Regions from separate parts of the Homo sapiens genome. Here regions 1, 2, 3, 4 and 5 are each linked to region 6. The links are contacts of gene promoters, found by promoter capture Hi-C in blood cells and fetal thymus (Javierre and others, 2016). All regions are on one chromosome and are shown on one strand. The core of a region is centred on a gene start or on the middle of the fragment in contact, and the rest is flanking DNA. Distances in the headings are between cores, read along the strand shown. Region 1 overlaps KLHL3 (kelch like family member 3). Region 2 overlaps KLHL3 (kelch like family member 3). Region 3 overlaps KLHL3 (kelch like family member 3). Region 4 has its middle 16 kb from the start of FAM13B. Region 5 overlaps FAM13B (family with sequence similarity 13 member B). Region 6 holds the start of MYOT (myotilin).

Evidence for each region. Contacts are between HindIII fragments. The CHiCAGO score rates a contact against its expected background, and 5 or more counts as called.
Region 1: a fragment that was not itself captured here is called in contact with the fragment with the promoter of MYOT in region 6 in 1 of 17 cell types (total CD4 T cells); the score reaches 5.2 in total CD4 T cells.
Region 2: a fragment that was not itself captured here is called in contact with the fragment with the promoter of MYOT in region 6 in 1 of 17 cell types (total CD4 T cells); the score reaches 6.1 in total CD4 T cells.
Region 3: a fragment that was not itself captured here is called in contact with the fragment with the promoter of MYOT in region 6 in 2 of 17 cell types (M2 macrophages and M1 macrophages); the score reaches 5.5 in M2 macrophages.
Region 4: a fragment that was not itself captured here is called in contact with the fragment with the promoter of MYOT in region 6 in 1 of 17 cell types (naive B cells); the score reaches 6.0 in naive B cells.
Region 5: a fragment that was not itself captured here is called in contact with the fragment with the promoter of MYOT in region 6 in 1 of 17 cell types (naive B cells); the score reaches 5.2 in naive B cells.

The regions. Positions count from the first base shown.
Region 1 is chr5:137,640,369-137,644,076 of GRCh38, reverse strand. All of the region lies in intron 8 of KLHL3 (kelch like family member 3), which reads left to right. Among named protein-coding and RNA genes, the nearest start is that of MIR874, 5.4 kb to the left of the region's middle. The HindIII fragment of the contact is 6,724 bases long and covers 1-3,708 here.
Region 2 is chr5:137,619,208-137,622,775 of GRCh38, reverse strand. It overlaps KLHL3 (kelch like family member 3), which reads left to right. Exons shown (of 15, transcript NM_017415.3): 15 at 650-3,568. The coding sequence ends at 678. Among named protein-coding and RNA genes, the nearest start is that of MIR874, 27 kb to the left of the region's middle. The HindIII fragment of the contact is 4,842 bases long and covers 1-3,568 here.
Region 3 is chr5:137,666,084-137,669,924 of GRCh38, reverse strand. All of the region lies in intron 6 of KLHL3 (kelch like family member 3), which reads left to right. Among named protein-coding and RNA genes, the nearest start is that of MIR874, 20 kb to the right of the region's middle. The HindIII fragment of the contact is 2,176 bases long and covers 1,270-3,445 here.
Region 4 is chr5:138,046,587-138,050,600 of GRCh38, reverse strand. It overlaps a transcript of FAM13B not described here. Among named protein-coding and RNA genes, the nearest start is that of FAM13B, 16 kb to the right of the region's middle. The HindIII fragment of the contact is 2,700 bases long and covers 827-3,526 here.
Region 5 is chr5:138,018,622-138,022,718 of GRCh38, reverse strand. It overlaps FAM13B (family with sequence similarity 13 member B), which reads left to right. Exons shown (of 24, transcript NM_001385994.1): 2 at 1,522-1,688; 3 at 3,573-3,764. The coding sequence starts at 3,608. Among named protein-coding and RNA genes, the nearest start is that of FAM13B-AS1, 12 kb to the left of the region's middle. The HindIII fragment of the contact is 2,121 bases long and covers 1,119-3,239 here.
Region 6 is chr5:137,865,972-137,869,638 of GRCh38, reverse strand. MYOT (myotilin) reads right to left here and starts at 1,779. Exons shown (of 10, transcript NM_006790.3): 1 at 1,686-1,779. The region is part of intron 2 of PKD2L2-DT (PKD2L2 divergent transcript); the gene reads left to right. The HindIII fragment of the contact is 5,979 bases long and covers 1-2,886 here.

The DNA.
Region 1 (3,708 bases), core at 960-3,459, 230 kb after region 6:
TAAATAAAAAGGTGAAATCCTGTCATTTGTGACAACGTGGATGAACCTGGAGAACATTATGTTAAATGAAATAACCCAGGCATAGAAAGACAAACACCACATGATTTCACTTATATATGAAATCTAAAACAGACAAACTCGTAGAAGTAGAGAGCTGAATAGTGGTTATCAGAGGCTGGGGAAGGGAGGAGGGAGGGGAGATGGGGGTGATCAATGGATACTGTGTTACAGTTAGAGAGGAGGAATACCTTCTGGAGTTCTATTACACAGTAGGGTGACTATAGTTAACAATAATGTATTGTATATTTCAAAATAGCTAGAAGAGAGGATTTTGAATGTTCTCACCACAAAGAAATAATAAGTGTTTGAGATGGTGGGTATGCTGATTACCCTGATTTGATCATCACCCAATGTATGCATGTATCCAAACATCACACTGTACCCCATAAATATGTGTACCTATTATGTGCCAACTAAAAATAAAACAAAAAAATTGAGTTTCCTATGCCTATGAGAGAAGCAGATGTATACCTGCTCTTCCTGCTGCCTTGAGCTACCTCTGAAACTGATGGTCCTATCCCACAAAACCTCATAATTCATTTTCCCAGATAGTTGTACAAGTTTTGTTTGTTTAAAGTTATCTCTTACCAGTGGTTTTATGAGCTCAAAGCCAAGTTTGTTTTGAAAACCTTATCTTGTATTCTATTTTTTTTTTTTTTTTTGAGACAGGGTCTCACTCTGTTGCCCAGACTGGAGTGCAGTGGTGCTGCAATCACAACTCACTGCAGCCTCAAATTCCTGGGCTCAGGTGATTCTGCCACCTCAGCCTTCCAAGTAGCTGGGACTACAGGCATTCACCACCACACCCAGCTAGTTTTTTGTATTTTTTGTAGAGACGGGGTTTCACCATGTTGCCCAGGCTGGTCTTGAGCTCCTGGACTCAAGAGATCCACCCGCCTCTGCCACCTAAAGTACTGGGATTACAGGCATGAGCCACTGCACCTAGCTGTCGTGTATCATTTTTGTATTTCTACTCAGGCTTTACTTTAACATTAAAAAATTTGCATTTCTGTAATACTGTTTCTGTGAAAATTCTCAGAGATGAGTGGTAGATTTTCTCCAATATGCATGTACCCTCTACTTCCCTGGTGGGAGATAGTTTCTGGGGCATGGTGAGGGTTCCTGAAAACTTTGCCTTTTTTTTTTTTTAATTTACAAAAGAAGCTGGATAGCTTATGCCAAGTATAAGCAAACTTTCTTTTGGTGGTTGAGTCAAAAGATGGGAAAAGCTCTCACTTTCTCTTTTTATTTTGCTTGCTTTTTCCTCACTGTCTCCAGAATTTTAACCTGGTGTTCCAACATATTTTAACTAAAGAAAATGACGTTCTAGTTTAGTTTCTTTTTTCATTTTTAAAAACTCTGTATTGTTTGTTTAACTCCTTGCATGTGCTATTTACTTTTTATTCATGTATTCTTTATTCCAAATAAACACTTGAGCCCTCACTTTTACCTGGCAACATAAGTATATGGAGTTATCTTGGTGACTGAGGCAGATACGTTTTCTGCCTGGGCAGGGCTCACTGTCTAGAGGTGCAAAAGACAAGACACTGATGGTCCAGCACAATGCAGAACACACAGGGCAGGTGAAATCTCAGAGGACGGATATGTAGTTCTGACCTGGAGGCCAGGGAAGTCCATTTGTAGGAAATAACATTTAAACTGAGACCTGAAAGATAAGCAGGTGTTAAGGCAGAGTGCTCAGAGATGGGAAGGTTTCGAGTCAGGGAACAGCATGTGGGAGGGTGTGGGGTGCCTGAAGTCCTTGCAGAAAGAAAACTTAAAACTGCTTTTATTCTCACTCAGCTTCAGAAATCAGATTTCAAAGAAAATCCTTGCAGTATTTTCCTTCAGTTTAGCTTTACCAACTCAAAACCGGAAAGACAATGCAAGTTCTGGGCATATTTACGAACATGTCATTCTGCCCTTGAAGAGTAGGTTAGGCATTATCTGGTGTTTGCCAAGGGGCTGTGTTCATTAACATCCCCCTTGAACTGTTCATGGATGCCTGTCTAAGCAAAGAATTACAAATGGGAAGTAATGTAGAATTCATGTTTACTCTGAAAAAGGCTACTCTTGACACAGAGCAGTGGACCCTCTGAGCTGAGGCACCCAGGAAAGTCAAGTTTCTGTCTGGAAGCAGCAGCAGCAGCAGCTCGAGGCTGGGTTTTGTGTCCTGGGTTCCTTTGGAATGCTTTAGAAGTCAGAACTGATTTCTGAATTTTTGAACACTGGTTACCCACTTTTGGTGACAGACAGCTATGGACTAAGTCTGATGACCAGTGACCACCCACATGGCAGTGGGTGAGCCTGTTCTGGAATATTGGGGAATAAATGGTTGATCTGTAGTAATGGTGGTGAGCTCTGGTTTTGCCTCCCGTATGGTGGGAAGTGTTCACTTGAGGGATGTGCCTTTGCGAGTTCACACAGATTTTGATGGGCACTTCTCTCCCCAAAAATACATCATGGGGAAGTAAAAAGCACTATGATAATTCATAATGGCAAAAGTTGTTCATGGCATATCATCAGGAAATCCATACAGAGCATGGATTAAAAAGGTGGTTCTCAAAGTATGAACCCTAGAGTGGCAGCAGCAGCAGCACCTGGGAACTTGTTAGAAAGGCAGCCTCTGGGCTCCACTCCAGATCCACTGAATCACACTCTGGGGATAGGGCCCAGCAGCTTGTGTTTTCACAAGTCCTCTAGGTGATTCTGATGTATGCTCAAGTTTGAGAACCACTGGGTAAATAAGACAAGCTACAGGTAATGATCAAATGAATTTGCTGGTTGTGACTTCCACCCTTTCTCTCCACTCAAGAAAGCATATTGGAATGCCGTTGAGTGAGAGTGACATCATTGTGGGGACAGCTATGAATTTGTACATGTTTATTAAAATATGTAAACTATAGGTAACTGGTACTTTAATTTTTTATTTATTAATAACATGTGACCAAAGACACAGCAGTGATACCATAATTAAGTACTGCAGTTCTATTAACCTAACCAGAGCAGTAGTTTTCATTGTGTTTGACCATGCCCTTGCAATACAAAATGCATTTAAATTGCTATCCAGAAGACACATGTAAGTGTGTATAGCCAAAACCAATATTTCATGAAATAATATTCTTATCATATTTTCTGTGCTTTTAAAAATATATGTGCTGGTCATAATCCATTAAATTGATTTCATGACCTACTAATGGAAAGCGACCTGTGTTTTGACAAACATAGATGCAGCAAGCTGTGTTTGCTTGGATCCTGTCTCTAGAGCAGGAGTTGGGGGGGGTGGCTGGCCTCACCCTCTGTCAGGTAGACTTGGGTTTCAGTCTCTGCCTACACTCTTAGCTGTGTGACCTTGGGCCACTTACATGTGTTCTCTGAGCTTTACTTTGCTATCTGTCAATGTGGATGATGATATCTACCTCACAGTTGTGGTGACAAGTAAATGACAACACATTTCACATGGTACCTAGCAGTGGTAGCTACTACCTTACTTGTGGAAATAGGACTGCTAGCACTAGTTTCCAGAACATCATCAGTTTAATAACTTTTGTAATAAACATCTCACAGGAGTTTTTCAATTTTTTTCTATACTGCAGTGCATAAGTGCACCCTACATTCTAGGCATTCAGAAATGCTTTTGAGTAATAC
Region 2 (3,568 bases), core at 537-3,036, 250 kb after region 6:
TTAGGTGCTGAGCATGGTTCACTCGGACTAAAACAGTAACATAGCATACATGTCTGGAGCATTTATCAAAGTCGAGATTGTCACACTGGCAGGGTCTCTTAGATGACATTTGTGTGGGAACTGAGCCTAAAGAGGTCAAAGAACTTGCCAAAGGCCATAGTGCAGGTTGACTGGTGGCAGAGCTAGGAATGGAATTCAGTCTTTCTTGCTCCCATGAAGGCAGCCTGCTGTACTTTCCGCTTCATTCCAGTGTCTTCTAAAAGTAGAGATGAATCACCCATTGCTTCTCTTACAGTGATTCAAATTTAGAACTGCATAGCTGCCCCTGGGCGCTGAGCATTGTTGGGCTGGGTGCTAGGGCTGGGGATGGGAGTCACCACAGTGAGTCCATGTGATGACACAGGGTGAGGCCACTAGTCAGTGGTGTTTGAGGGACTGTGCTCGTAGGTTCAAGTGTCTTGCCAGGACTTGGCTGTTGGAGTGGGGAACAGCCAGCTGCTAGCAGCCTGAGTCCACTTCAATATTAGGATAAAAATTGCACACATTTCCCTTGGCTGTGACTCAGGATATCTTGGATTCATGAACTCACTGGGACTCTGAGTAATTTTGGAGAAGCTAAGATGATAACTTTCTCCCCCTTTCTTATTAGGTGTTGCCGTGATTCACAAGTCCTTGTGACCCAAACTCCTACTGCCAGGAGGTGGAGGAAGGAGCAGGTGCTGCCTGTGACTCTGAACAGCAGGACCTTGGTGACTGGATTCAACTTGCTTGGGAGGGTCTGTGCTGCTGTGAGAACCGCTCTCCTCTGACTTGGCAGACTGGTGTTGTTCATCGCAGTGTGGACACCATTACCCACCCCCGTTCCCCTGAGGTGCTCTGGCCTATGCCCTGAGCAAGGGGGGTCTTGACATCCCCAGGCAGCACCTTTGGGCTTTGTTTTGGTGTTTCTACAGGGACAATACAGACCCTGGAGTGTGTGTGTGTGTGTGTGTGTGTGTAGACCATGGTGTTTCTCTATGTTTCTCTAAGTTGGGGGGTGAGCGTGTGTGACAGTCTACTGGATTTCTTTACTACTGATCCTTTCGCTGTGTTAAAAATCAAGTCACAGAGACCTCTCTTCTGGATTTGTCCCATGGGGACCCTGAGACTACTAAAGCTGCTTTCTTCTGAAGGTCCAGTTGGACAGTCTGGGAATGTCCAGAAATAACCAGTGAGAGGGGCAGTTCTCTGGCCACACCCACTTATGTACTTTAACTACTGTGACTTTGTCTGCAGAAGAGCTGGAAAATTCTCGAAGCTGCACCGTGTCCTCTGTGTGCTAGAATAAGGGACAAATGGGTTCCCTGTGCTTCTCAGCTCACTGTTTTTCCTTGAGTTCTCCTACAGGAAGCAGATGAGAACTGCCCAGTCTTCAGGTTTAGGCCATTGGTCTTTGATGTCATAGATTCCAGGCCTGGGAGGTGTTATGTCTCTTCAGCTGGGAAAACTAGCTCTTCAGAGAAGCCTCGGGTAACACTGAAAAACAAAACAAAACAAAACAAAAACAGGAAAAAAACAAAAAACCAAAGTGGTAAGGATTCAGTTCCTGCCTATAATGGTCTCAGAGAGGGTCCTACTTTTAGGTTTTCCCAGGACAGGACAGTCCCCATTTATACTTATTATCCCAGTTTAATTATTCACAGCACCCCATTTTACTCAGAAGTGTTCTGGTCTGGAGGATAAATAAGAGGTCACCCTCCTCCAGACCCAAAGATAGATTTGTGCCTGTGTTGGATGGGGTCGTGTGTGATTCAGATGGACATTGGATGGCTTCAAAGGAATATACCACTAGAGCTGGCCCTTGGCACTTTGTGACAGTGGTCAAGTCTGTCTAATGTCCTTGTCTTCTTTTTCTTGTGCTTTCCCCCTATTCCAGGGTGTGCACCCTCTCCCCAACCCCCAAGAACCCCACTACTGCTTTCCCTGTGAGGTAGGAGATATCAGTGGGCCTTGGATTTGAGGCTTCCTAAGATGTGCTTGCATTTTAAAAAGGGAGCTTGGTGAGAGCTTTGCTAATTCACAGGTAAAAATTATTAACAATAGAACTTCAAGCATCTTGAGGAGCGGGCATTTGAGGGGGCATGGAGTAATTTGTATTTAAAAAACCTTAAAGTTGTGCTGTTCCTAAACTAGCAAATTGCTCATGCTGAAATTTCTGGCATAAGCAGGGGAAGTCTTGTGTCTGGAGAATAGTCTCATACCTTGCAGTCTGGGACACCCTCCCTACTTTGAGAATCCACCTACAGGAAGCCAAGGAACTTTATAAATCCTGATGTTGGACTTCTGATACGACTGGGCTACTTCCAAGCAGGTGCTGCAGGAGATTGGCATCCCCCAGCCCCTGCAGTTAGAAACCCCGAAGTCTTCCCAGCCAGTGAGCCACTTTGTGTATTTACTGTATATTTATTGTGCCCTAAATGTGCAACTCTCCTAAAGACAAAACTTCTCTTTCTGATGTTAAGCACATGTTACTTCAACAAGATGCTTGGAGAACAACAAGGTACCCAGAATTTTTAGAAGCCTTCAGAAGAGGCTAAAATATCCAGCTTTGGGGGACCTGGAAGAAATGTCTCCAAAGGAAGCAAGGCATGTTTTAGTTGAGTGCTCTGGTCTCACTATGAAGTGGGGATGACTGTGGCTTCATAACTCTACCTGGCTGTGGGTTGGAAGCTGATGGAATGAGAAATGTCCTTTCTCCTTCTCTGAGGAAATTTTGAGACTTGTTTCGGTGTGTCTGTGTGATGGGGATGAGGCTGGGGTTGGGATCTGATGTATGCCATTCACAGAAGCTCTCAATTTCAGATGATAGGTGAATTCCCTGCCCCTCCCCCACCACTGAGAAGCTAGACTTTCATGCGGGAGAGGCTACTTTTATGTGTCGTCTTCCGGGGAAGGGTCCCTCCACTGAAAGCTAGCCAGTCATGTTTTCTGTTTTTGGATTTTTGCAATTGGTTTCACCTCATGTCTCCCTCCCTACAAAGCACTGCCTCTACTGGGCGTGCTGCCAAGGCCATGTGCACTCCATCCTCATGTATCCTTTTTCACGGGGACCAGAACACTGGTACGTCATCACCAAAGCCAATCTGCTCTAGCTGCCCACAGATGCCACCAAAACCTGCTATCTCTTCATCACCAGGTACGATTCTCTTTCCACAGTGGACACAGCAGGCTATTTTCTAGTTTGTGCTGGTCACGTGGTAGATGAAGCCTCTTACTGCCCCACTTAGGGTGGCCACGGCTGCTTGTGAATGCAGCTTTGCCAGTGGCATATCTGTCATCTGATTGCGGTGGTGAAATGGAATTGAGGCCCAAGGTTAGAAGCAGCCGAGACGCCACTTGGATACTGATTTGAACAATGTAGAAGTCAGATTCTGAATTCCAAAGTTATTTCTCATAAGTACCCAATGGCATCTCTCCATCTACAAAGTTGCAGTATTATGCAAATAAAACTGACCTCATTTTCTGCTATGCAATAAGAATACTTAATTCTAGTTCCCGACAAGCCAGTTGCAATATCCCCTAAGATGCT
Region 3 (3,841 bases), core at 1,108-3,607, 200 kb after region 6:
CAATTAAAGCCCATATCTGAATTGTCTCTGTGAGCCATTTTGGCTTCAATTTCCACTCAGCTGCCCGGATTGAATTCCTTCTTATTTAAAACACTCAGGCATTTTCTTCTTGCTTTTGCGTATGGCTCAAATCTTTATTTTTTCTGTAATACATCATGCTCACGTGTTTGGAGCTACAGGGAAAGATTCCTTCCAGAGCAGCTCAGTCTACCATATTGACTGGCAGACATTCTCCATCCGTATGTCATCCTGCACTCATGGTTAGGATTAGTACCACTGACGTCTCTCAGCTTGTAGACGTTTCTATCAAACCATTGTGCTTCAGTCCTTTTCTTATTCTTTGTGGACTCATAGTGAAAGTCTTTTTTACTGGCTGTAGGTAGTAATAGAAAGCTGAAGAACAATTTCCAGGCCAAGTGATGTTACCGTTTTAATTTTTTCATCATTTTTGGTTATCTGAAGTCAGATATCTGGCAGTGTGCTGCTGTAGGAAGAGAACCATACATACATTCATTCATGCTTTTATTAATTTATTCATCCTATTAAGAAATATTTCTCTGTGTGGCAGGTAGCGTATTAGTCACAGGAGAGACATTGGCAAACAGATCAAAACAAGATACCTGCCTTTGCAGAACTTATATTCACATAGAGGAGAGATATTTTATCAAATATATGCACAAATATATAGCTATAAAATGAGAGATGTGGTATGAATGAAATGTGCAGTGTGCTGTGAAAGTGTGGATTGAAATCAGTGGTTCTAATTGCTGTCTTCTCACTAATTTGTTGGGTAATGTCAGGCAAATGACTTCGTCTCTCTCTGCCTTACTTTCTCCTTTTGCAAATGACTAGCAGTTTCACAGGGTCCTTGTGAATCTGAAATGAAGCAACTACAAGAAAGAGCTTTTAAGTGTTGTGTGAAATGGTGATGGTATGGTCAGAAAGAAGAATTCAACTGGGTAGGTTTCTAGGGAGACTTCAGACCAGGACATCGCTCAGCCAGTGGTGTGCTGGTAAATGTTTAACAACTGGCTCGCTAAAAAACATTCTAAAAGCCCTGATTCATCTGTTGATTCATTTGCTGATTTCCATGGTGTAAATATTTTCATCAAGGCTGACTTCAACTACCAGTGTAATGTCACTAAACGTGGAGTTAGGAAGAGACGTGCACAGTGAGCTCCAATTGCCGCACACCACTGCTCCCAGTTGTCCCTGGAGTTGTGTGTGGCAATGAGGTGAGAGTATGCTTAACACAAGTCTTGTTAAGCTTTCATTTAAGAAACAAAAACAGGAATCCAACAGAATCATTCTTTTGTCTAGAAGCACTATCTTCTTGATTTAAAAGCATGGCAGGAGATTTGGTAAATGGTATTGCCTCAATCCCTGGGAAAGGAATAGGAGACCTAGGGGAGGTGTCCCAGGAGGGCGTGGAGGATTGTAATTAGGATTATAGGTTTAGGAAGTTAGTTCCCCAACTCAACAGTCTGCCCAGGGTTTTTTTTGTTTGTTTGTTTTGAGACAGAGTCTCTCTCTGTCACCAGGCTGGAGTGCAGCGGTGCAATCTCGGCTCACTGCAACGTCCGCCTCCTGGGTTCAAGCGATTTTCCTGCCTCAGCCTTCTGAGTAGCTGGGGACCACAGGTGTGCGCCACCACGCCCAGCTAATTTTTGTGTTTTTAGTAGAGATGGAGTTTCGCTGTGTTGGCCAGGATGGTCTCAATCTCTTGACTTCGTGATCCGCCCACCTTGGCCTCCTCGGCCTCCCACAGTACTGGGATTACAGGTGTGAGCCACCTTGCCTGGCCTAGGTTTTTAAAATTAATTGTGTCTCTGAGATGCAAATTGCATAATGTTTGAGCATGGGTTTTTGGAGTTAGAGGTGAATTCACATCAGATCTATTCTTCCTGGCAGTGTGACCTTGTACAGCTTGCTAACCTCTCTCAGGCTGTTTCCTCATCTGTAAAATGTGAGCAGTGACACCTACTTCACAGAGATTGTTGGTGGATTAAATGAGATCATATGTGTAAAATGCCTAGCACTGTGCTTGTTGTTATTAATAAAGTTAGTCCTTCTCAGATTGAGTAACAATTCAGGTCCATGTATAGGAACCTAGTTTTTTTTCCCTGATATTGTCAAAATTAGCGTCTTTCTCTTCTTCCTATGTTTTGCTGAGAATTGCTCCCAATTGAACTTCTCCCCTTGCCAAGTCAGTGCCCTGCCTTTTTAACTGGAGTGCTTCTTGATCTTCAAAACACATTTTGAAAGCAGGGAAAGTACCCCAGGACTCCTCATTTTCCTTGGGGTGTGCAAGTCCAGCCTAGCTTGGCTGCCTGTCTGTCCAGAGTGTTGGAGTGGAAGGTCTGGATTCATCTGGTATTCTCTGGCCAAGACCTGTGCTTACATCTGAAGTGTGGTGAGCTGGGAGCTATGGAATCTGATTTTCTCCAACTCCTTTCCACTTGACAGTCTTGTAGCATGCAAGAAATTGGTTCTAGGACATTAATCAGTGAGGAAATGGGGCTATTTCTTTGTTTAAAAAGTGAAACCCTAAGTGTACCTATGAGCAGCTGATTATTTCATCACAAAAAGTAGTAGCTAAGTAGATATCACCCTATCCTATGATTGAATCTATAGTCTCTGCTTAGATTTTATAGACCAGGGGTTGACAAACTTTTTCTAGGAAGGGCCAGATAGTAAATATTTTAGGCTTTATGTTGTCGTGGCTTCTCAACTCTGCTACTGTAATGTGAAAGCAGCCATAGACAATATGTAAACGATGAGTGTGGCTGCCTTCCAACATAATTTTATTTACCAAAACAGGTGGCAGGCTGGATTTGGCCTGTGGGCAGCAGTTTGCAACCCCCCTGCTATTAGACCTATTAGACATTTGAGAGTCAGCTAAGAATAATGGATTTAGAGCATAAGCACTGAAGTTGGTTTTGTATGTAACCAAGCAGAGCTGGCTCTGCTTCTTTTTAGTTCTGGGACTTGGGCAAGTCATTTAATAAGGCTTAAGAGTATTTAATCATTGGGTTATCTTGAGAATTTGGGGAGGCGATGTTTATGGAGAGTCCCTTGGTGGGAAGGGTTATTGGGAACCATTTTGGGTACATTGAAAGCTAAAGCAAGTTGGAAGTTTATTTGCTTGTTTATTTTTCAAGCATGAAGTCTGAATGAAAAAAATATGTGGCCTTCTCTAGCTGCTGAGAAGGTCACTGTTGTTGCCGAATGCTGTGGCTTTCATAGCTGAGTAGATAAACAGTGTGACTAAGTGGAACTAGTTACACAAGTGAAGCCAAAAATAAAGATAAGGTTAAATATCGACTTTGGTAGATTCAGCTTGCTTTTTTGTTTTTATAACAAAAATTAAGCTGGTTGATGGGGAAGAATGTGATCAATAAATGCTACCCGCTTAAGGACTTGTAGTTCATTCTTCAGCTAAGCTTTGCCAATCAGTTACCTTGTGTTGTGCTAGGCAGCATTGGGAGATGGCGTGCAGAGACAGAGCTGGTACACTTCTCACTCTGCATAGGCTCACAGTCTATAAAGGGAAGTAGAAAGAGGTGTGGCTAACCAACCACATACAAGGCAGAATGGGGTTGTGGCTGCCCATCACCTAACCTGGCAAAGGCAGACTATCTGCCTTTGACTCTGCCTTACCCACTAAGATTCCAACCCCTTGTTCCCCAGCCCTGCTCTCTGCTCCAGCCTGGGCAGCTTCCACACATCTCCTTCCATGCTTATTCTGAACTCATTTTCCATTCATTCACTTAAAAAATATTTGAGTTTGTGTTATGTGCCAGCAAATAAGACAAGGTCTCTCATGGATCTTAAGGGCTAG
Region 4 (4,014 bases), core at 927-3,426, 180 kb before region 6:
CTTCTTTGGAAGAGGCAAGGCAATCTCTGAGTTGTAGTATCTCCGAGTCCAAGATGGTGGGGCTGGCATAGAACCTTCCAAGTTCTTTCTGCCTCTTTGCTTCCTTTCAGGTTGGCATGTCAGATGTTTTGTCTGTTTGTTTGTTTGTTTGTTTGTTTGTTTTGAGACGGAGTTTCATTCTTGTTGCCTAGGCTGGAGTGCAGTGGCCCAATCTCAGCTTGCTGCAACCTCCGCCTCCCGGGTTCAAGGGATTCTCTTGCCTCAGCCTCCCAAGTAGCTGGGATTACAGGCGTGCATCACCACGCCTGGCCAATTTTTTATTTTTAGTAGGGACAGGGTTTCTCCATGTTGGTCAGGCTGGTCTTGAACTCCCCATCTCAGGTGATCTGCCTGCCTCGGCCTCTCAAAGTGCTAGGATTACAGGCATGAGCCACCATGCCTGGCCCTCTTTTTATTTGTTTTGAGGCAGGGTCTCCACTCTGTCACTCAGGCTGGAGTACAGTTGAGTGATCATAGCTTACTGTAGCCTTGAACTTGTGGACTCAAGCGATCCCCTCACCTAAGCCTCCCAAGAAGCTGGGACTATGGGCACATACCACCACACCGGGCTAATGTTTAAATTTATTTTATTTTATTTTGTAGAGAAAAGGGCTCACTTTGTTGCCCAGGTTGGTCTCTAACTCCTAGTCTCAGGCAATCCTTCCACTTCAGCCTCCCAAAGTGCTGAGATAACAGACATGAGCCACTGTGCCTGGCCAAACATGTCGGATTTTATTAGATATTCTGGATCCCTAATAATGAAATTTTTCTTTAGGTTTTGGAAGCTTTCTTGGGTTATAAGTGCCCACAAACTTTTTGTAGTTTGCACATTTAGCTCCCAGCACTGTGGACAATATCCGAGTGAGAAAACAGACAGAACTACTTATTGAAGATAGGAATGGAGGCTGACAGATGGAAAATCCTGTTTTGCTTGGTAACTTACTCCAAATGAAAAGAGGTTTCATGGAGTTAAGAAATGTATCACTCTAGGCCGGGCACGGTGGCTCACGCCTGTCATCCCAGCACTTTGGGAGGAAGAGGTGGGTGGATCATCTGAGGTCAGCAGTTCAAGACCAGCCTGACCAACAGGGTGAAACCCCACCTCTACTAAAAAAAAAAAATTAGTAGGGCGTGGTAGCACACGCCTGTAGTCCCAGCTACTCAGGAGGCTGAGGCAGGAGAATCGCTTGAACCCGGGAGGCAGAGGTTGTAGTGAGCCGAGATCACGCCATTGTATTCCAGCCTGGGCAACAACAGCGCAAAACTCTATCTTGAGGAAAAAACAAAAACAAAAACAAAACAAGAAATGTATCACTCTGAAGCCAGGCACAGTGGCTCACGCCTGTAATCCCAGCACTTTGGGAGGCCCAGGCAGGCAGATTGCTTAAGGCCAGGAGTTCGAGACCAGCCTGGCCAATGTGGTAAAATCCCGTCTCTACTAAAAATACAAAAATTAGCTGGGCGCGGTGGCGCACGCCTGTAACTCCAGCTAGTCGGGTGGCTGAGGCACGAGAATCACTTGAACCTGGGAGGAGGAGGTTGCAGTGAGCCAAGATCTCACCACTGCACTCCAGCCTGAGCAAAGGAGTGACTTCGCCTTAAAAAAAAAAAAAAAAAAAAAGAAATGTATCACTCTAATGTCCTTCAGAATTCTCTGATTTTTAGATTGTAGTCAGAAGGAGACTGACATTGAGGTAGTGGCAAAGGTCTGCATGGGGTACAATGATGCTATATTTCATCACATTGCTGAATACTTTTAAAAATATTGTGAATATATGAGAAAGAGCATGTAATGCATATATACAATTTGCAAAATAATTATGAAAAACAAACCCTATATACCTTCTACTTGGCTTGAGAATTAGAATGTTACAAAAGCTCTGAAGGTCCTAGGGGTCGGCCAGCATGCTGGTACAATTTGGCCACTGCAAAAAGGTGCCTTACCAAGGGGAGAGGGATTTGCCTCCTAAAAAATGGAGCTTTTTCCTTGGGTACAAAGACACCACCTGGTGCTAGGCTGAGGGTCCATAGGCTGGTTCCTACCCAGTGGATATGTCATTTTTCTAATTATCTGCTCAGAAAACAATTCTTTTTTCTAGTTCACATAGAGGCCTCTTATAGGCTAGTGTACTGTGTCCTAGGGGTGCGGGGTCACACCTATAAGTTCTGTACCCTCCACTATAAGTAACAATTATATTGAATTTTGGATTATTATTTTTCTTTAGTGTTTTACCATGTATATATGCATCTCTAAATTACCTACCTCTCTTTCCCTGTACTCCAAAGTGCCATTTGGCGTTGTATTAGTGTTTTGTTTTGTTTTTAATTGCTATAACAAATTACCACAAACTTAGTGGCTCAAACACACAGATTTGTATGTGTGGGGCAGTGGGTATATGGGAAATCGTACTTTCTGCTTTATTTTTCTGTAAACCTAAAACTGCTCTAGAGTTTTGTTTTTTGTTTTTTTGGATTTCTTTCTTTCTTTTTTCTTTCTTTCTATTTTAAAAGGCATTAGGTACTAGCATTAGGGGAAACTTGGAACTCTCTGTACTATCTTTTGCAACTTTTCTGTAAACCTAAAGTTATTCTAAAATAAAAAGGTTATTTAAAATTTTTTAAAAACACAATACAAATGTATTATTTTATAGTTCTGTAGGTCAGCAGTCTGACGTGGGTCTCACTGGGCTAAAGTCAGGCCCCTAGAGGAATATCTAGGGGTCTATAGGAAAGAATCTGTTTGCTTGCCTTTCCTAGCTTCTAGAGGTGGTCCACATTCCCTGGTTCATGGCCTCCATTCACTTTCAAAGCCAGCAATGGCAGATTGAGTTATTCTCATACCCAGTCACTCCAGTGTCTTCTGCCTTCCTCTTCCATTTATAAAGGCCTGTGTGATTACATTGGGCCCACCCAGATAATCCGGGATAATTTCCCCATCTCTGGGTCAGTTGAGCAACTTTAATTCTGCCTATAACCTTTATTCCCATTTGTTATGTGCCGTAACATATTCACAGGTTCTAGGGAATAGAATGTGGACATCTTCATTTTTTTTTTTTTGAGATGGAGTCTTGCTCTGTCACCAGGCTGGAGTGCAGTGGTGTGATCTCGGCTCACTGCAACCTCTGCCTCCTGGGTTCAAGCAATTCTCCTGCCTCAGCCTCCTGAGTAGCTGGGACTACAGGCGTGTGCTACCACGCCCTACTAATTTTTTTTTTTTTTAGTAGAGGTGGGGTTTCACCCTGTTAGTCAGGATTGTCTTGATATCCCGACCTCATGATCCACCCGCCTCGGCCTCCCAAAGTGCTGAGATTACAGGTATGAGCCACCGCGCCCGGTCTGAATGTGGACATCTTTGGGACATCATTATTCTGCCTACACTAGCCATCTTTATGTAGTACTTTGCCACATGCTTGTTCTGCCCCCCAACTAAAAATGATTGTTCTTTTGTTTCTTCTCTACAGATAGCTCACTCCATATCTGTCAAGCTTGAGTTGCTTTCTGAGTAAGTGAAAAGAAGTGGCTGGGCACGGTGGCTCACGCCTGTAATCCCAGCCCTTTGGGAGGCCGAGGCAGGTGGATCATAAGGTCAGGAGTTCAAGACCAGCCTGGCCAAGATGGTGAAACCCCGTCTCTACTAAAAATACAAAAATTAGCTGGGCGTGGTGGTGGGTGCCTGTAATCCCAGCTACTCGGGAGGCTGAGGCAGAGAATTCCTTGAACCCGGGAGGCAGAGATTGCAGTGAGCTGAGATTGTGCCACTGTACTCCAGCCTGGGTGACAGAGTGGGACTCCATTTCAAAAAAAAGAAAAGAAAAAAAGAAAAGAAGAAATACCCTTATTCTGATATAGTAATAATGTCTCATAATAGTATTAAACTACTGAATTAAATGTATTTTCTGGACATTAATTCAGCATTTATCAATAGCTCCAAATTGAGTTTCAGGAGCAAACTAAGGCCAGAGACTACCACTTACA
Region 5 (4,097 bases), core at 930-3,429, 150 kb before region 6:
ACATCAAGCAAATCCCCCTTTATGTCATGAGGATATCAGCTTGACTTTTAGTGTAAGTCTGTTAAATAACTTATCTCTGAAGTTAACTTCGAAATTGTTTTCAAATGGATAGATAGGTAGATTAACTACATGTCTTAGCAGGCATTTCAGGATGTTTTGCAACTAATAATCAACTAAAAGATTTGTTATGGGAATGTGGTTTTCCTTCCCTTCAGTTTTTAATGTTTCTCCTGGAGGTGTATGTTACTAATAACACTTCTTTGAAAACCACACTGATTAATATTACTCTTCTGCTTACCTGAAGCTTCTTGGGCAGAGTCCTGCAGTGTAGTTTACTGAGCTTATTAAAAGATTTGTTAATAGATGACTAGAATTCACAGAGGATAATGATACCATTAGAATTCACAAAGGATGATGAGACCAAATATTAAACACTTTGCCAAACAAGTTCTTCTCTCTCTCTCTAGTCTAATTGCTGGTCTTTTAGCATTATGCAAAGAAGAGAGAGGAGACTGGTTCTCTATCTACTGCATACCTATGTTATCTCAGTTAAACTAAACTTAACAGCTGTACAGGTATTATTCTTTTTTTTTTTTTTTTTTTTTTGAGACAGGATCTCACTTTGTTGCCCGGGCTGGAGTGCAGTGGTGCAAACACAACCCATTGCAGCCTCCACCTCCTGGCAGAAGTGATCCTCCTGCCTCAGCCTTCCAAGTAGCTGGGACTACAGGCACTACTATACCTGGCTAATTTCTAAATTTTTTTGTAGAGATGGGGTCTCACTATATTGCCCAGGCTGGTCTCAAACTCCTGGGCTCAAGTGATCCTCCCACCTTGGCCTCTCATAGTGCTGGGATTATAGCCATGAGCCAATGCACCTGGCCTGTACAGGTAGTTTCTTGTTTTATATAAAGAAACCTAGGCTCAGAGACATGGAAGTTGTTCACCATCATGTGTCTACAAAATGACGGAGTTATTAATTGAATCTAAATCTTTCTGGGACTGTTCTTTTTGCTCTTTTCCAACATATGCTATCGCTTCTCTAAATTAGGGAGCTCAGGCAACCACTATGTTGTATACAAAAAAAAGAAGAAAGTACTTAAGTATAGTAGCAAGCTTAAATCATATCTTTGATTCTTTGATCTTTTGAAAATACTTCCATGTTTAGTTCTGAGTATGTGAGGAAATGAGGAAGGAATGGGATGGGGTAGGGTGTCCACACATAATTGAGGAAAATGGATTATTTGAATGGTGTAGTCCTTGAAGATGTGTCCTGTCACATATCCTCCTTTGCAATTCGTTTATTTATTTATCTTCAGCAGGAAGATTCTTCTCCAATTTTCCATCATCATCTGAAACCGTTGCAAGGTTTTGCCTTTAGGTTACAGATAGATTTTTCAGACAGAAGAATACCTTTCAATATAGGTAACCTCTTAAGAGGACTGTACTGCTGCTTCTATTAATAGTCTCTTCTGACAGTTAAAGATGTGGGAAATTGAAATAATTGTTTTTGTCTTGTAGATTAACTGCTGAAGTACTGATCGAGTTCTGCATTTCTTCAATGAGGAACTACAGGCTGATCTTCTGCCATAATCTCAAACAGCCATAAATGACAAAAGAATGCTTGCTCAGTGAGGGTAGCTGGTGCAGAAGCCATTTTTTAAACTTAGGTATTTAAGTACTGAAAGGTAAGTTTTCAAAATGGTAACTATCTCGTGCTCTATAAATCCATAGAGATTTTGGAACTTGCCCCTGTAGCTGCTATTTGATTTAACTTGAGGTTTTATAGTTCTTAGCTGGCACCAGATACATTGAAGAATGGATGTTGCTTGTCTGAGACTATGTAAATGTATGGCATTTTGCTATCCTTAAGTTAATTTTTTCTTTTAAGTTGGCTGCATTGTTTCCTAGTCATGTTGTGACATTCTTGATCCAGTGGGTATACACTTGATCCAGTGGACCTTATTTTTGTAAACTTAGGAATTTTAGTAGACTTATTTTTGTGATTTGCTTTTTTTCTCTTGCAGTGAGAAAGAAATTGTTTTTCTAGGGTGATGGAAAAAATACCAGCTGGTGTCATTTTGTTCATTATCAACCTTTGAGTTTTTCTTTCTTTTACAAATACTCTTTTCCTACGTAAAGTAATAAATGTGTAATGTGTTTATTTTAGAAAATAAATTTTTCTTAGGATTACTTGTTCTCTGATGTGTCAGATATTGGAAATGGCCATCTGAGACATTGTTTTCTCCCACTTCTTTACTGATCACAATTCCTACAAAATTAGGACAAATAACTATTTCTTCTGAACTAGATGGCTCTGAAAATTTTTCTTTTGGATAATTATGAAATAACAGTGTTAAGGACAGGCACAACGGCTTGTGCCTATAATCCCAGCGCTTTGGAGGCTGAGGCTGGCTGATCACATGAGGTCAGGAGTTCAAGACCAGCCTGGCCAACATGGTGAAACCCCGTCTCTACTAAAAATACAAAATTAGCCGGGCGTGGTGGCGCACACCTGTAATCCCAGCTACATGGGAGGCTGAGGCAGGAGAACCGCCTGAACCCAGGCGGTGAATGTTGCAGTGAGCCAAGATTGCACCATTGCACTCCAGCCTGGGCAAAAAGAGCGAAACTCTGTCTCAAAAAATAAAAAGAAATAACAGTGTTGATAAAAGGACATCTCTTATTGAAAGTTGATGTCCAGAAATGAAAAATTTCTTTTTTATAAAAATGTATTACAGGCCGGGTGCGGTGGCTAACGCCTGTAATCCCAGCACTTTGGGGGCCGAGACGGGCAGATCACGAGGTCAGGAGATGGAGACCATCCTGGCTAACACGGTGAAACCCCATCTCTACTAAAAATACAAAAAAATTAGCCGGGCGTGGTGGCAGGCACCTGTAGTCCCAGCTACTTGGGAGGCTGAGGCAGGAGAATGGCATGAACCTAGGAGGCAGAGCTTGCAGTGAGCCGAGATCATGCCACTGCACTGCAGCCTGGGCAACAGAGCGAGACTCCGTCTCAAAAAAAAAAAAAAATTTATTACAGCTGCTTTATCATGTAGAAATAAGAACTCATTAATCTTGTTCTTATTAGCCCATCATTTATAAAAAGTGGTTATTAGATCTGCACTTTCTAAAAAGGATTCTCTCCTGTTTGGGCTTATGAATTGAGGGGTTAGATGAGCTTTATATGGCACAGTCCAGAACGGGTTTGGATTTACCTGTGTCATTAATAAGCTTGTTCAGTAAAGGTTTTCTTGGAGCCAAATTTGCTCCTTAATTTGTCTTTGGGACATTAATGCCTCTTGCTAAATCTTTGATGATTAACTTTGCTATTGTTTGATAAGTATGCAAACACTAAAGGGAGCATTCAGCACTAACTCTTCGTAATAGGGAATATGTTTAGGTAATTGTACTGAACTTCATCTGTAGAACACACTATGGGCCTGCTAACTGGAACATTTAAATAGATGAGAACACATTCAGGTGTAAAGCATTTTTCTTTAATGTATCTAGTCATATTGCCACCTGTTAATCATTATAGTCTTTTTTTTTTGTCTTTCATTTGGCAGAAAAGACAGCTTTGATTTCTGGCTGCAAAAAAGATATGAGGAAGAGCTCCTCCCCTTCCTTGAGTAACTGCAACTCCGTTCTTGCTAACAAAATATTTGGAATTCCACTTGATGAGCTGCAGCAGGGAGGACATCCAGACAATGAGGTTCCATTCATAGTCCGCCACGTTGTGGACTATATTGAGGAACATGGTATACATTTCCTTACTTTGAGGGCTAGCTTTTGTTTTAATAAACACAACTTACACCTTTTTGACCTTGGATTTTTAATTTTTTTTTTTAATATGGAAAGTCCAAAACATAGGAAAAACTAGAAATTCTTTTTAATGTTTTAGTGTGATTTTTACTTAAATTCATATACTTAGAAATGACAGTTGCCCAGCCTAGAACAAGTTTTAGTGGGGGTGATAGGAATATTTTTAATGGATATAAGGGGTGGGATAAAATAGAATATCCCTTAGAACAGAGATAGTATGTTTCTAGATGTATAATTTGAAGGTTTTTAGACAAGTCAGGGGAGCCAAG
Region 6 (3,667 bases), core at 530-3,029:
ATTTTGAAATTGCTTTAGCTCTTTTACTTTTTCTTTTCAAATGGCAAACAGGAAGCATAGAAGTAAATAAGACACATATGAAACTAGTCTATACCTTACCAAGAAAAGACAGGTGCCATTCCTCCTACTTAGCTCTGTAGTGGGCCTCCTGCCTTCCTACAGTACATCCTCATTTTTTCTCAGATGAAACATTTGCCATGAAAATCAACCTTGAAGGATTATATTTGTCTCTGATTTTTTTTCCATTAGTATGGTAAACCTAAGCGGGACTATATATAGACATTACACACAAAGACTAGTCCTATAAATTGTTTTCACACTAATCCTGTTTTCATTGAAAATATCAGATAAATTGATTCAAAATACATTTGCCTATTTTGTTTCATCTGGTATAAGCCAATACTGAGATAATGACAAATCAAACTTTTAACTGAAAAATTAACCAAATTGTTTGTCATCATTGAAACGAAGTCTTCTAATTATTTTAGTTACTGTCTTGGATAAAATGTTAATAAAACTTTTCCAGACCAAAGAGTTTCATCCTAAATAATAGGATACCTTCAAAAAATAGTATTTCAAAGTTGCCTATGTAGTTTAGAGTTAAATTAAAACTAGCAATTTTAGGAAAAAACAGAAATGCAACTAAACAGCCAAGAGAAAGACGCTATTGAGAAAGAATACTTAAAAAGTTAAATATTCCTTAATTTCAAGTTTATGAACACAAATACATTAAACTAGAATGCATTTTAGAAATGAACTACTTTAGGCATTTAAATTGTTGGGGAAAAACATCCTGAAGGAGGGCCTTGAGTAGATCTAAAAAAAAAGTCTATTTCAAGGCAAGTAGTTTTGTAGTTATCGGTTTATTCAGTCTGTTGCAGAATTGAATCCAGAGTTTGATTCCTAAATTTCTTTCTGGGCAGGTACATTATTGAGACTCATTTCAGATAGCAAGGAATAAACCGCTTATGAAATAGTAGATATTTTCCAGAAACAGTTCTCTTTTTTTCTTTACATATATTTTCAGAATGGCAACTGTCTTGTACATGTTGATATTGGCCTACATTGTTAATAATTAGTGATATTTTTAAAAGCCCAATTAAAAATATGTTATTTCATAAGTTTCATTTTATCCATGTGTCAAAATTTTATGCAGACATTTACGCAGGTGATCCTGTATTTTCTTTATGTTTGTAGTTACTGTTCAACAATTTAATTCTATAATAGATTCTGTTATATGACAGGGTCATTTTATTCCAAATAATGTTAAATGAATTTCAAAGATTTTTATAAATAAAGTACTATTCAGTCTCCTTTTTAAAAAATCTTAACATTTTTTTCCTGTCTCTAATATAGCATAGACTTGCACAGAAGACTGATAGAGGATATGTTGCGTTCATAAGACATCACCACAATTACATCAGATCAAGTGTCCCTTTTCAAGGAAAAATGGTGATTTAAAAATAATGACACACAGCTATCTTTCCTTCTATCATTTGTATAATGCCTTCCAGTCTCAATGAAATGAATGAGTCGCTTTCTCTTTAAATTTTTGTGTAATACCATTATAATGTTGTGGCTTTCAAACTTTTTATCTGAAAATCATCTTTGTATACACTCATCTGATTTGGACAAAAAACAAAAACAAGACCTAAAAGTGTAGTAGGAATAAAGAAGGGACTTACCCGTAGTTCCAGAGGGTGCCAGCTGGGTTTAACCCACTATTGAAGGGAAGGAAGAGGCATCTCCTTCCCTCACAGACTAATCTAGTGGCTCTGTGCTTAGTATTATAGCACCACTGACTTTTATCAGCTGCCAAACAGTGACATCTGATGTGCTTGCCTGTCCATCTACCTATGCTGGCATGTCAAAGTAAGAGTCCACAATCTAAACAATATCTCACGTGTCTTAGTGGTATTTAAGGAGTGGGATTACATGAGCTTCTTTTGCAAGCCTCTTTATTTCAGACGTGAATTTTGACTATGAACTTTAGCAAGCTCATGTGAGGGAAGGGCAGTGAATAGGGAAATGGGAAAAATAGAAAAAAAACCCTCTTATTTCTTTATTATGGTGGGGACTTTGAATTTTCCCAGTTTAAGAGAGAGGACTAAAGGGAAAATAATATTTCAAGAGTGGAGTTCTTCTATCTATTATACTAAGACTTCTCCAGGAATAAGACCAGTGATAGATGGGCTCCCAATTGATTTGTATTGCATAATTCTTCATCTGAAGTCTTTTTTCTTTTGCCTAATGAGAGTAGGATTCAATAATAGATTTGAGGTCTCTCAGTACTAGCAGTTTGTTCCGAGGTGGAGGGCAGTCTGGGCAAAGCAGGAGACCGAGGTCATAGTGACATGTCACTGGGAAGGTAGGGAGGTGGAAAAACATGATGGTGTTTCTTGAGCAAGTTTTCTGAATCTGTATGGCATATGCCCCTTTTGCCTAGTACTTTTATTCTGAAAGAGTTTTGAAACACTTAAGAAACAACCAAACAAATAAGCAATCTATATAATTAGAGCTGTCAATGCATGTTCATCTCCCTTTATTCCTAACAGTTAGTTTCCTTTCACTTTTTGTCACAGAGACCATCATGGTATTTAGATTTCCATTTTTGTGCAGGGAAGTAAATAATTGCAGAAGAATAAAATGTCGAATCAGCAAATGTGGTGAAGTAGGGTAGGTGGCATGAGGATTGGGCCAAGGGAGTAGAATTATCTCCATGGGGTGGCTTCAGTTCCCCTCCCTCATGGGTAGATACCCCAATCTTGATTGAATTAACATGTATATTAGAATCCAGCAAATAGATGTTTGAGCACATATGAGCCATATAAAATCCTTCACAGCTGGCCAAGTAGGTGTACCTTTCTTTGGTGTTCAAAGAAAGCTTGATAATTTCTGCCTGGGCGTGCAGCCCTTAGTAGAAAAAGCATGCTAGACTTGGTGAGTAGGTGGTTGCCTACAAAGTCTTATTTCAGGAGTCTCCCAAAATATTCTTCAACATCTGTTCACTGATATTTCAAATTCCAGTAATACAGACAAAACCTTTCCATCTAAATTAGAGAGACTTAAAATACAAATGCAAGTGATAGGATAAAAGTAATAATAGCCAATATATAGCATTTATTATGAGTAAGACACTCCTTCAAGCATTTTATTTTATTATTAGTTTTTTTTTAGAGACAGGGTCTTACTCTGTCACCCAGGCTGGAGTGCAGTGATATGATCAGAACTCACTGCAGCCTCAAACTCCTGGGCTCAAGAGATCCTTCCTCTGCAGACTTTCAAGTAGCTAGGGCTATAGGCATGCAGCACTATACCCAGCTAATTTTAAAATTTTTTGGACAGACAGAGTTTCGCTATGTTGCCCAAGCTGGTCTCAAACTCCTTGCCTCAAGCGATCCTCCACGTCGGCTTCTCAAAGCACTGGAATTATAGGCATAAACCACATGCCCAGCCTATCTATTCTAAGCAATTTTAAATGTGGTATATGTGACTGACATTTGGTTCTGCTGGAGAACAGGGTTTGATTAGGGCATGGAAAAGGAAATAATAGATTTGAGGTCTCTCTGCACTAAAAGTTTGAGGTATACCTCACCAGCCAAGTAGGGAAGACATCCAGGACAACCTGCTAAATTCCCAATTTTGCCTACAGCAGGTTCTAAGCATA